Linked DNA regions of Homo sapiens: region 1 is linked to region 2. Evidence: promoter capture Hi-C in 16 types of primary human blood cells and fetal thymus (Javierre and others, 2016). All regions are on one chromosome and are shown on one strand. Each heading gives the region's core, a stretch centred on a gene start or on the middle of the fragment in contact. The rest is flanking DNA. Distances are from core to core; before and after follow the strand shown. Region 1 holds the start of HOXC11 (homeobox C11). Region 2 has its middle 6.9 kb from the start of HOXC4.

Region 1 (2,779 bases), core at 243-2,742, 74 kb after region 2:
CTAAGGCCGCGGACCCGGGAGAAACGCCCAGACCCCCGCCTGGAACGCAGTGGAGTCCTGCGCCGCCTCGCCCCATTCCCCTGTCGCCGCTGACCCCAGAGTTGCTTGGGTTTCTGCTCGAGGACCCGCGAACACATAGTTTGAACATTTTCAAAACTAGTTTTAAGAAGGATCATAGCGGTCCTGGCTTGCCTCTCCGGTCTCAGGTTCTGCTCCATTGCTCCTCTCCCCCACCTCTCCCCCTCTCTGGATCTCTCCCTGTCTTTCCCTCGCCCTCCCCTTTCTCCCCCTCCACCCCTCCCCTCCTCCCCACTCCTCGGCAGCCCGGCTCCCCATACTTCCTTAAATGCTCCTCTAAGTTCACGATCAAAGTTAATATCGCCCGCAATGGTTGCGCTTTTAAAAATTTCACAGACCGAGGGAGATAACGGGGGAGGGGGGTTCACCCGGCTTTTCCAAAGAGCCCTTTTCCCTCCCTCCCCACCCCTTCTCCATCGTAAAAAGTCGAGTCGTTGGGAGAGAGGGCTTTGTAGGTTATAATAAAATCCTTTGAATGCTTATAAAACTCCACATAAAATCGGACTGACCCAAAACACGAGGCCGTCCCCGCTCCCCTTGCCTCCCCCCTTCTCTCGCCCTCCCTCTCTCGCTCCCTCCCTCGCTGCCCGCCCGTTCCCCGGCCGCTGCTACCTACTGGGGGCGGCTCCTTTGGCCGGCTCCTTGGCCACGGAGTGGGCTGAACCGGACGAGCTGGGATTTGTGTTCTCCTCCTCAGCCTCCGCCTCGGCACCCGCCTCAGCCCGGGACGCCAGTCCCGAGGCCGGGGGTGCCTCGGGCTCCCCCTTGGCCTCGCCCTTGCCGGAGCAGGGGGGCTCGGCGGGCGGGTCGCCGCCACCGCAGTAGGCGTTGTCGAAGAAACGGTCGAAGGCTTGAGGCAGGACGCTGTTCTTGTTGACTGAGGAGTAGAAGCCGGCGGGGGTTGCGTGCGGGGCGCTGGGGTGGTGGTGGCCGCCGTAGGAGCCTTCGTTTTTCATGAGGATCTCGGTGACGGTGGAAGGAGGCAGGCACTCCCGGTGCATAAGCTCGTCGGCCGCCGCATAGCAGGAGGAGTAGCTGTTCCGATGGTGCCACTTGCCGGATGGCTCCAGGCCGTAGGAGACCTCCCGGACCGGGGGCACTTGGGCCGAGTAGGGATAGGAGATCTGACGAGAGGGGGCCTGGGGCAGGAAGGAGGAGACCGTGGAGAACTCGGGCATGTAGTAAGTGCAACTGGGCAGATAGAGGTTGGAGGCGCAGCTCCCTCGCTCGCCGAAATCTGCGCCCCTCTCCTTGCGCGACGGAGAGCAGAAGTTGCCCAGGTTGACCGAGTTAAACATCGTTCTCCTCTCCTGCCGGCTCCGGATGGAGGTTTTGGACCCGGTCTAGCGAGGGGGGAAAATTTGGGAAGGCGAGATGACGCGTTATCCGTCTTAGTCTCTCTCTCTCTGAGCACGTGATCCAAAGTAGATATTGTCATATATCAGTTCGGAGCACTTCGCAGACGTAGGAGGGGTTCTCTCTTAGGTAAGATCGGGGACGTTCAGGCGATTGGTTTGCAAACACCGCAGAAACATTATGAAAATCAATTGCAGATTTGTATTCGTTTTTCTCTCGTCACTCCCCTTCTCTCCATACCACAGCACGAGCAAAGGAGGAGAGAGAGGGTTGGGGTGGGGTGGGCGGTGGGATGGGCGAGGGTGGTGGCTGGGAAGGGGTAATTGTATTTTTTTCTAGCTGCTGCTCTTTTTTCCCCCAGGATTGGGGGAAGGAGGAGGGCTCTCATGTATGGGGGTCTTGCCTCCTCTCTGTGAGCAGCACCAGGAGGGTGGGAGTGAGGACTTCTTTCCCCACTGCCTGATTTCCCCAGAGAAGTGAATCCTTTCCCTTAAATCTCAGGGACTCTTACCCTTCCAACCCGCAGAGACACCGCCTGTTCACAAGAGTTTGAAGAAGTCCACTCTTTTCCTGGCCAGAGCTGGGTGTCAAGACTACCTTTCTGGAGTCCTTAGAGAGACTCCCGGAAGAGTATCTGAAGTTTCCCAAAGGTGAGGCAGCCCAGCTGCAAGCCAGTGTCCCAACTTTGTCTGGCTTGCTGTGCTGCCCCTGGCTAGGGAGTCAGATTAGTCATAAACGAGTGGTGAGCAGTGCGCCAGCCGCCCAGCCGGTGCCTGGCGAAGTCTGGGAAAAACCTTCTCTAATGTTGTGTTAAATATTTAGTATGAGAGAGTGGCCCTGGGTGAATATTTCATGCCTGCCTTTATTGTCAATCAATGTGAAGAAAGCTACATCCACTGTGGATTTTCAAATCCCAAACCCCAAAGAAAAGGATTGGAATGAGAGCCATGTATCTTCTATGTCAGGGCCCTTTGGCTTAGTGGCTCAGCCTCAGCTAGTGCGCTGAAAAGAAGCCTAGTGTAGGGGTCCAGGAAGAATATGGTGGGGGGGACTAGGTTTGGGGTTCTTATCCTTGGATGATTTTGAGGACTGTAAGGTGGGTGGTGGGGCCAGGTATGGGTCTCCAGAAGAGACTAACCAGACAGTGGAAAGGAGCGGTGGATGCTGTGGCATCAGGGGAGGCCCAGCGGCCACTCCCTAGTCAAAGCCCCCAGCCTCTGTCCCTGGGGCTGTGACCAGATCTTAGTGCCTCCTTCCTATTTCTCAGCCCTGTCCTGCCCTCCTACAAGTCTGTCAGCCTCCTGGATAGCTGTAGCCCAAGAAGTAGGCTCAGTCATTCTGCATC
Region 2 (2,741 bases), core at 74-2,573:
ACTTTGGAGAGCGCGGTCTCCTGGGCTGACCCAGCCATACCAGATCATTACCATGATTAACCTCAATAATAAGATCTTCCCCTCACAAAACACAGCTCCCGGTGTGCCTTTTTTTCTCTTCCAGGAGCTGTTCTTTCTCCTTTCCAGCCCAAAGGGGTCCAGTTTGCTCAGCCCCAAGCTCTCCCTTTAATAACCCCGTCTGCCTCGCACACCCCTTCCAAGCCTCGGCCCATAGATCAGAGTCTTTCCGGGCATGCTTTGAATCCTGGGTTGGAGGAATCAAGGCCGAGAGAGATTTCTTAGTGCCTGAAACTGGGGTGTCACCTCCCTCCATCCCCTCAAACCCAAAGGCAGCATCTTGATGCCATTTGGGTTCGCAAACTTGCCTTGGCAAAATCGTGGCACCAGTGGGATCTGGGGAGCGGCCTTCAACTGCAACTGCGCGTCTCAACCCCACAAAAACGGGAAAGTCGGAGAAGGGGCCATCGGAGGCTTCAGGGTCTGGCCTGGGAGAGGGCACCAGAGTCTGCTCTTCCTAGCCAAGCGGGAATCAATAGCGATGTGTTATAAACTTCCCCGAAGCCCCTCCGCGCGCTCTGGTCCTGGCGGGCGAGCCACGTCCCTAAGCCGCTCGCCAGCCTCGGCCTGCACCTTGGCCGCCTCCTCCGAACCCGGGACCCCCAGCCTTGGGCTTCGTCCCCTCCCTGTTTTAATTACGTGATTGATTTCCGCTTTGGCCGCCTCGGGACGCCTCTGCCTCCGACTGTTTAAATCTTTCGGCTCCTTTTGTGTATTTCCGAGTCCTCCCGGCGGGCTGTAATTTACAGGCGGCCCCTCGGCGGCCGGCGCGCACCTCGCGGCCTGGGTCCGGGGCGGGCTTCGGCCTCGCCCTACATTCCAACGAAATGGTCCTGCCGCGGTGCTCGGGAGACCGGCTCTGCAGCGGCCCCGCGGCGCGGGACTCTCAGGCTGTGGTCCTGCCCATTCGCTTTCTGAATTATTTTGTGCTCCATTATTCTCTGATAGGAAAACGTTCCCTGTGTGGGTTATCCCTTCAGGCCTGGCCTCAAAGCTGGGCTCTCCGCGGTCCTGTGCTTTTCTCCTCCCCCGAATGAGGTGTGTGTTGAAAGGTCTGGATTAAGCCCGGAGGAAGCGCGACGCCTGGCTCCAGGCTTGCGGGGAGCTAGAGCCCCTTCGCCTCAAACACCTGGGCCCTGCGCTGGCGGGCGAGAAGCACCAGAAGAGATGCGAATTCGGCCACAACTTTACGCCAGTCAGCGCGAGAGGGACCACAGGGCTGGCGGTCCCCACTGCGGCCCCTACCCCGCAGTAGGCGGTGGATCTGACTTTCGCTCCACAGCCCAGAGGCCTCCTCGCCCTGGCAGCCCCAGCGGGCACCTGGCAGCAGCCTGGGGTGGCTGCGCGCACCTCCGCCCGGGAACACGCTGTTCAGCCCCTCCACCCAAGGGATTGAAGGTGAGGCGAAGGAAGGGAAAGAGGGGAGAAATTGATGAGAAGGGTAGACTTAGGGTGGGGAGAGAAAGGGGAAGACAAGAAATGAAGAAAAGGAGCCCCTTCTCCCACTGTGGCTGACTTCTTTCCCTTTCTCTTTTTCCTCCCCAAACTGCTGGTTTTCCACTTATTCTCTCATTTATTTACAACAAATAAACATTGCTCTGCTTATTCTACCACGTTGTGTTCATTCTTTGATCTTTTCTAACGAGGCAGCAATGAGTTACCATTAACTGTGTATATATATATATATATTTCCCTCAAGGAGAGAAGGGGATTGGGAATGTCTTTCTGACTGGGAAGAAGTTCAGTGACACTTGAGTTGGCCACAACCTTCTCCCTGTCCCCTGACCTACGACACCCCAATACTTGTCCCCCAGGCCCCCTCCCCCACAGCAATGTTGCCGGGTAAATAAGAGTCCGCCTGCCTGGCTATTAGGATTCTGGAGACGTTGGCATCTGTAGCAATCATTAGTCAAAGCCGCGGAAGCCAAAGGAGCCGAGGAGTTGGACAGAAAAAATCTTGGAAATGATATACAGGAGACGCGGAGGCATCAATCCCAGCCGATAAGAGCGGGGCTGCTGGGCGCAAGGCGGCCGCTTAATTGGGCCCTGGGCACCGAGAACAACTGGGGAGGAGGAACCTATGGGTTGTGCAGTAACCCTGGCATCATTTGGGCACCCTATAAAAACAGTTGGGGACTTGATCCCTTTTTCCCCCACATTTCAAAGGCCCAGTGGGGGGTGTAGGGAGATATACAAGCCCCTGTCAGCCTCTTGCCCTGGGGATCCAACAGGAACTGGGCTGGAGGACTCTCCCCTTTCTTCTCTCCCCCTTCTTTTTAGTGGCTACCTTGAGAGGTAGGGAGCTTCGGCTTGGATCTCAGGTCACAGAGGCAGCCTGGAGGCAGTCTATGACCCCTAGAGTAGGTTTTCGAGGGACAGATAACTTAGTGGGACTAGATTTTGGAGATGGCCTTAGAAATAGAGACAGAATTACTTGCTTTAATAAGCCAAACATCCAAAATATATTTGTTCCCTACCCCCACTCACCTAATATCTTTTTATATCATAGACACAGAGATAGAGAGGGAGACAGAGAGATGCAGTAAGTTTAAGTCCTTCTAGAAGGGAGATCTATGCCCCTATACACAGATGCATGCATTATGAAACCATCTCTAAACATATGTTCAAACATGTAAGTTTTTCAGCAAAAATGCAAAGACTGT

What was found. The method cuts DNA at HindIII sites, captures the fragments that hold promoters and counts their contacts. A CHiCAGO score of 5 or more calls a contact.
Region 1: a contact is called between the fragment with the promoter of HOXC11 here and a fragment that was not itself captured in region 2, in 1 of 17 cell types (total B cells). The highest score is 5.9, in total B cells.

The regions. Positions count from the first base shown.
Region 1 is chr12:53,971,839-53,974,617 of GRCh38, reverse strand. It overlaps HOXC11 (homeobox C11), which reads right to left and starts at 1,492. Exons shown (of 2, transcript NM_014212.4): 1 at 695-1,492. The coding sequence starts at 1,376. The region is part of intron 1 of HOTAIR (HOX transcript antisense RNA); the gene reads left to right. RefSeq lists an enhancer at 1-266. The HindIII fragment of the contact is 12,279 bases long and covers 1-2,779 here.
Region 2 is chr12:54,045,563-54,048,303 of GRCh38, reverse strand. It overlaps a transcript of HOXC4 not described here. Among named protein-coding and RNA genes, the nearest start is that of HOXC4, 6.9 kb to the left of the region's middle. RefSeq lists an enhancer at 964-1,863. The HindIII fragment of the contact is 4,043 bases long and covers 1-2,741 here.